Regions from separate parts of the Homo sapiens genome. Here region 2 is linked to region 1. The links are contacts of gene promoters, found by promoter capture Hi-C in blood cells and fetal thymus (Javierre and others, 2016). All regions are on one chromosome and are shown on one strand. Each heading gives the region's core, a stretch centred on a gene start or on the middle of the fragment in contact. The rest is flanking DNA. Distances are from core to core; before and after follow the strand shown.

The links. Contacts are between HindIII fragments. The CHiCAGO score rates a contact against its expected background, and 5 or more counts as called.
Region 2: a fragment that was not itself captured here is called in contact with the fragment with the promoter of LRRC74A in region 1 in 1 of 17 cell types (neutrophils); the score reaches 6.7 in neutrophils.

What each region holds. Positions count from the first base shown.
Region 1 is chr14:76,824,550-76,828,245 of GRCh38, forward strand. It overlaps LRRC74A (leucine rich repeat containing 74A), which reads left to right and starts at 1,859. Exons shown (of 14, transcript NM_001385106.1): 1 at 1,859-2,185. The coding sequence starts at 2,149. The HindIII fragment of the contact is 9,425 bases long and covers 1-3,696 here.
Region 2 is chr14:77,126,601-77,130,296 of GRCh38, forward strand. No RefSeq gene overlaps it. Among named protein-coding and RNA genes, the nearest start is that of ZDHHC22, 13 kb to the right of the region's middle. The HindIII fragment of the contact is 5,677 bases long and covers 1-3,696 here.

The sequences.
Region 1 (3,696 bases), core at 609-3,108:
TGCAGTGAGCTGAGATTGCGCCACTGCACTCCAGCCTGGGCGACAGAGTGAGACTCCATCTCAAAAAAAGAAAAAAAAAGAATTAAAAAAAATTATGGTCCTTAAACATTTTTATTTTTTCCAGAATTGACTATTATGCAAAAAATATTGCTGTCAACCATTCTAAAGAAAATATCTGATGATGTCACTCTCCTGTTCAAAAATCTTCATTGTCTCCCTATTGCCTTTTAATTGCATTCGGATCTCTCCCTGAAGCTGCCCTGGCCCTGGTGGCCTCCCCTTCTGCTACTCGTCTTCACAGCCTGCACTCCTATGCGGGGAGCTGCTGCCTTCCTTCATCCTGACCTCCTGGAAATGCCTTTTCCCCAGACTCTACTTGTCCAGAGCCCAAGCAAGTTCCCCAATATGAAGAAACCTCACCCTCCCCTGAACGCCCAGCGCATTTCCCCAAAGACCCATCTCAGTTTCCCTGCTGCTGTTGGATCCAGGCTGGTGGTGCCTCTATCCAGTGGCTTAGTTGGAGCACCTACCTCTAGATTTTCTCACTCACCCTTCAGTACCTGAGACCAGATGGTGCCGTCCAAGTAGAGCACCCAGAGCCCTAGACCAGGACACACATGCTCTCTGATCCCTCTTTCTCCCCCTTAATGCTTCCTTATCCTCTGCAATAGTGTGGGCCAGCCAGATGCCCTGAGGATCACCAGGACTCATGTCTACCTGATCATCCTAGGAGCTGATCACTCTCCCTGGACTGTTTGGTATTTCTTTAGAAGGACCACATGAGATTGGGCCACCAGAATGGTGCTGCCATGCCGATTTAGGGTGACTCAAATTGTTTATACAAGCAAGAACTCTACCAAAAATATTTGCCCAGGACCCTCACCCTAGGGTGGCCCTGTCAATTTCTATTATGCATTGCACATGCCTTAAAAGGGTCCTGTCTTAATCATGTCTGCATCCCTTCCCCACAGTGGTGCCTATTTTAGCGCCCGTACGTAATAGAGACTCAATATGTATTTCTCAGCATGAATGCTTGAAGGAACAAGTAACATCTCAGGTATACATATTTCTTCTGATCCATGGTTCTAATCATGTTTTCCTTGCACACATTTCTAGATCTTCCTCATTCTGAGTAGCAAAAAAAAAAAAAAAAAAAAGGAATTTTCACATCCTCAAACCCTCCAGTCACTGACCTGACCATTGATGTCCTGAAAACTTATCAAGAAAGAACAAATGTGCCTCCAGATTCTCCCGAAACCAAACTGCAACTGGACTTCAACTCCAACACATGTGAGAATGGCCGAGTGTGGGAATGCTAGTTGAACCGTCTCAAGGTAGGCAGCCCCATAGTTTGGATTGAACAATGCTTTGGCTGCAACAAACTGTAGTGATAGGACATATGTTCATTGCGCTGTGCTTTTGATCTTCAGCTCCAAGGTTAAGATGCTCTCCCACGGGGAAAAGAAAAAAGGAAGAAGAGCTGGGCAGAAGAAAACTGACTTCACCCGTCACTGAAATACTTCATACCTGAAGCACAGCTCTCTTGCGAGAAGAACATGATGGCAGCTCTTCACAGTCACCTAATTAAGGGGCTTGGGTTGGGTCCTGACTCAGAGGGAAATACAACACCACTGAGAGGAACCCCCCACAGCACCTGAGCACTCACAGCCAAGCCTGGGCTTGGCCCCAGTAGACATATGAGAACAGGTGACTGCCAGAACCACCCAGAGGGCGGGAAGCCTGCTGTTGCCAGGTCCACCATGTGAATCACAATGACTGCATGAGGTCACAGAATGTTGAAGATGAAATGAAAGTGGCTCCTGAGTCACAAAGTCACAGGCGGGTGGGGATCCTTTCAACAGGGCTCCCAGCAATAGAGCAGTCCCACTCTCCCAGATGAGCTGGAGAAGTAGCTACCTCTCCCAGACAGAGTTGGGGTCAAATTCATGCACATCCAATTCCCATCAAAGCCTACTCTTCCCAGGGCTTGCTGGGAGGGAAGGATAACTGCAGGCTCCCCTGGGATGCCCCCAGGTGAGGGAAGTTCACAGAGTTTGAGACAGAGGTGAATGGACAGGTGTGCTTCTTAGGGAAGCAGTCGAGAGGTGGCAAGAAGTTGGCAGCTGCCCTCAAGAGGGTCCTGGCACCATGGACAATGACAAGCCTCTTCAGCCTGAGACAGAAGGTGAAAGGGCATCCCATCTCTCACCACTCAGGCCCGTCCCTGCTGCCTCAGTACAACACCTAGTGATCACAGGACCCTGAAGCCCACTTCTTTCCTCACCTGGGACCCTCTAGAAGTAGGATGATTTGTTATACTGACTTGGGTTCAGGCCTTGGCAAACAGGAAGAATTGGCTGCAGTGCTATGCCACAACTACCTCATACTGGCTCTAGCCAGCTTTAATTTTTATTGTGTGGGCCAGTTGATACCACATTTATAGTTTGAAATCAGTCACATTGGGAATATTTACACCACATGAATTGGCTAACACTATAAATCAGGATGTTTTTGGTGTTGTTTGTTTTTTTTCCTGGAGAATCAATTGTTAAAATTTACCAGCATTCTACTGGTTGAATGGAATTCTAAATTGTTTGACAAGGAAATTAACACTCAGAAATTCATCACTTTTCTAAGGGCACTCAGCAGTCTGACAGCCAAGCTGTTGTCTGTCTTCTAACTACCAGGCCACTGCTACCTGCACTGTGTATCCCAGACAGTCTGGGAGATAAATGTTGGAACCTGGGTCTATGGACAAGGATTAAGAAAGACCTGCATGGACTCATTAGGAACCCCACCATCCTAGAATCTGGGTGGTCAAAACTTGGGACCCCTGCCACAAATGCTCAGCCCACCCAATGAGTAGGTTGGCTAAATTCTGACAGGTCATTCAGAGGCATGGCATGGCTTCTTGAAACTACTGAGTCCTGTCAGTGCCTAAGGATTGAGCTCTGGATTTTATGTGTGGCTTCCAGAAGCCCATGGCTTTCAGGAGCCTATGGCTGATCCCAGGTCAATGGCCCAGAGGTGGTAAAACCACATCTAGCAAGTGCAGAGGACTGGTGTGAGGGGAGCTCTGTTCCCAGCAATGAATATGATTAATTCATTACTATGAATTAATCATAGTAATTCATTTCGACCCAAGGGAGATTTTCAAGCCCCTCCTTCTTCCTAATCACAAATCAATGTTAGATTGGAAGGAAGAGAAGCTAAGTCAAATTCTTAGGAATCAAGTTCTCTCTCTTGCTCTCTGGAACTGCTCCTGGTCCATTTTATTTTCTATTTGACCTAAGTTGTCACCTCCCCTGCCCTGCCCTGCCCCTTATACTCCCTGGCACCATTTGTGCCTGACAATAAGGAAGCCTATGTATCGGGACCCACCCTTTCACCTGAAAGAGTAACAGCACACCCCAAAACCCACCCAAACACTTAAGAATGGGAAAGTGTGAGCAAGGAGCCGATCTCCAAGGCACGCCTCAGACAGGGAAGGGGGAAGGAGCAGCCGGTCTCCAGGGAGCAGAAGGGAGTTGGTTTCACAAGCTCCCGTAGACCCTGCAGCCGGAGGCAGCGCTATTGGGGAAGGGAGGTTTGTAGAGTGGACTTGCCCTGGCAGGGCTTGGCACCTTGAGGACCTGGGACTCAGAGGAAGGGAGCAGAGATGGAGGGGCGGCAGCGGCAGGCTTTATTGGGAGGCCA
Region 2 (3,696 bases), core at 808-3,307, 300 kb after region 1:
ATACAACCCCACTTCAGTAGCTGTCTGTTGCCCTCTCTGGAGAGTTTTTCCTCTGTCATAGACAGGCTCTGCAGGTGTTTTCCTCCTCACACCCTACTTTCATTTTAGAGTCTTTGGTGGCTCCGTGTCCTGGTCTGCAAGGATGGGGGTAGAAGTGTGCTGGGCTGTGCTTGGCCCTCTGCCAGGGTCTGGTTCCCTCCTGCAGGTACCCCAACACCGCCTGGGAGGACTGCCATCTAGAAAGAGCTTGGGCGTTTTCCCTGACTAGGTATCATCCTTGAGCCTCAGCCCTGACTGTCCTTAGACAGTAACCTCCACTGATGCTCTGCCCTGGAAGAAGTATTTTCATCCAGGGCAATCTGCCCATAATCCTTAGCTGGGAAAGATCTAGGGACCCCCATTTTCCCGGCAAAGTCACCATAAGCAGTTGACTGTTAGCTCTGCAAGGCACAAGCTGAGCCTACTTCCTTTCTCTGTATCCACCCGTGCCTGTTACATAGTAGGTGCTCAATAAACATGTTGAATGAACAGATCAATGAATGAATGAGTAGAAACTTGGCTCCTTGTTAATTTTCAGCAGGGAATGTATTGTGTGTCTGTAATATTCCACAATGGAAAGACAGTCTAGTGCTGTGTTAAATAGACCTTGGAGCAGGCAGCCTGGGTTTGAATCCTGGCTCTGCCACATACTAGCTTCAGGCTTTGGGCAAATTACACAACCTCTCTGTGCCTTTATTTATTTATTTTTTTACCTGGAACGTCAGGGTTATAATAAAACATACCTTGTAGGATTGCTATGAGGAATACATGAGTTAATACAGATAAAGTGTGTACAGGACAAGCACCTGGCATGTAGGGAAGGCTCAGCAAATCTTGGTCATTGTTACCAGCAGTAGAATGACTGTATCAACAATGTTAGTGTCCTACACCATGCTAGGGACAGGGGGAAACTAAAGGATTCCACCATCTCCATTTCTGCTTTCCAAGGGCATGCAGTAGTTAGGAGACAAAACCTACAGGAGAGAGTAAGAGTGACAGAGAGCTGCCAACAGTAGTGGGAGTTTGAAATAGAAGGTTTCCAGGGGGCTGGACCAATTGAAGAAAGGTCCTATGGAGAAGTGCGATGTGGAGGAGGGGCTGGGAGGGGCCTAGGCTAAAGGAGGAGGCATGCTGGGGCCACCAGGTTACAGGATGTGGGGAGGTGCCCACCAGGGTGCAGAGGTCCACGCAGAGAGCTGCCTTGCCAGTCCAGATGGGGCACTGTACATAACAAAAGGTCACTGCTTACATCTCAGGGTTCCAGCCTTTCCAGTTCTATTGTAAGTCCTGGAAGCCATCTTGCTAGGAATGGTGTCCTTCCAATGCCATTTGCTGAGGCTGTGCAGGAAGGCAAGAGTGATGGGGAGCTCCCAGAGACCCCTCTTTGGGCCCAGAGAAGACTAGGAATCTCTGATGTTCCCAGGTGAGCTCTAGCATCTTTGGGCTGATTCTCTGGAAAATGAACTTAACCTTCTACCTTTGATCGCCAACCTGGAGACTTGCGGATCCTTTAGAAAAACTAGACATCAGTTCATGCTTGACTCATCCAAACGGACACCATGAGCTGGTGTGAGTTAGGGTTTTCTAAGAAGTGATCAGAGGAAGGAGGCAGGGTCCATGGGGAGCGTGGCCTGAGGACAAACCTGCAGTTGTGGCTGCAGGTATGTGCTCACATCCCACCATTCCTAAATGCAGACTTGCAATTCCCAGAAACCACCTGGTATCTCTGCCTCTGTATAGTCCCTCCTACCTCCACTCCCACCCACAGCCCTGCTTTTCTGCCTGGCCCCCTCCTATTCATCCTGCATGACCCAGATGTTGCCTTTTCTGGGAAGCCTTCAGGTCCGCCCTGGTAAAGTAAGTGCTCTCCGCCAGGCTTCTGTAGCACCCTGTCCTCCCATCGGCACTTTCATGCCACTGAATCACAACCATCTGCAATTTGTTCTCTTCCTAGTGAGCTCCCTGAGATCAGGTACTGGGTCTCTTTCATCTTTGCATTCCTGGTTCTTGGCATCATGCCTGGCATAGAGTCAGCATCGATGAATGTTTTTGAAGAATGAGTGGAGGAGCTGGGCCAGTACCATGAATAGAGAGGGGAATGAGAGCAGAAGCAGAGGCCAACACCAGGAGCAACTGAGCTACTCCCAGACACCTCCCGCCCCCACCAGCAGGCTCACTGTGGCTGGTGAGCAGGCCCAAGGTTCTGCCTCATCTTTAACGTGTCTCAGATAAGTTAGGAGAAATGCCTCCTCTCTCCCTGCCCATCCTTCCTTTTCTTCCTGGCAGGAGGGGCTGCTTCCCAAGCATCCCCGAGGGCATGCTGAGAGGCAGGGCAGGAGGGAGATGAGGGGGAATCTCATGAGCAATGAGGCCAGTTGGAGGACACTGGGTACAGACAAAAGCCACAGTATTTGGAGGACCAAATGCATGGACAGTAACAAGGACAGTCATCTTCCTAAGGAGAAAGACTGGCTAACAGATGGTCCCTGGGACCTAAGGACTGACTTGTTACAGTGGAGGGGGACCTGGGTTGAAGTCTCCTCAAGTTTGTTGTCTTTCCAAAACTCCTTGGGTTCCTGGAGCTTAGAGTGAGGCAGTTCCTGCCTTGCCTAATCTGACACTAGGGCATGGGTCAAAGCAGAGTGTACCCACTTTCTGGATGGAAAGCATCTCACTCCAGCACATGGGCCTGAGGACCCATGATCTCTATTGGCACTGACAGATGATTCTACCCCTGCTGTGGGAGTCAGAGAGCTGTGCTGTAAAGAATGACTGGCAGATGTCCCTGAACCCCTTCCTCCATGGACGCAGAGTGGTTAGTTAAGAATGACACCATCAACTGCCATCTGACGGGCCAACGACAGAGGCTAGTGCATGAGATGGCCCTGAACCCTAGTGTCACAATCTTTTCCACCCCAATCCTCCTAACAATCACCCCGTTTTCACCTTCAGGGCCATCTTGGGCCCCCTCCCTAGCATTCCTCTACTCATGCTCCATGTCTGTGAAGTGCCTCTGATATCTTTCCCCTCTTTACCATCCCACAACCACTATCCCCACCCGGATCCCGGTTACATCTCACTGAGATATAGTACATGCCTCTTACCAGGTCCCTCAACCTCCAGTTTCTCCCACTTCCAGTCTATCCTCCAAGGCTGCGCTTTCTGAAATCTACCTCTGATCATGCTGCTCTCTTGCTCAGAACTTTCAGTGGTTCCCTATTGCCTGTCAAATGCCCTCCAGGTCCCTTAGCTTGGCATTCAGAGCCCTCTCTGCTTGGGTCCCTACTCTCAGCCTTAACCTCCTCTGCCTCTTTGTGATATCCCTTATACCCCAAGGCCCAGGCCTGTTCTCTGTCCCTGGAAAGCCCTCCCTGTCCCTCTTTGCCTGCTGAAATCTCATCCATCTTTCCAGGCCCCGTATCATGGAAAGGCCCCAGACCTAGCAGCAGAATGTGCTCTCTCCCTCCTCTGAGCACTCCCAGAAACCTCTGCCAGAATGGGAACTCCTCGAAGAGAGAGTGGTCTCATCTGTTTTCTAGCCCCACGATGTGCAAAGTGCAGTCCTGGGTCCAGCATGGGAATAAGAGATGTGGAGTAAGCATGTGAGCGCTAAATCTGCATCATTCAGGCAATATTCATTGAGCACCTACTGTGTGC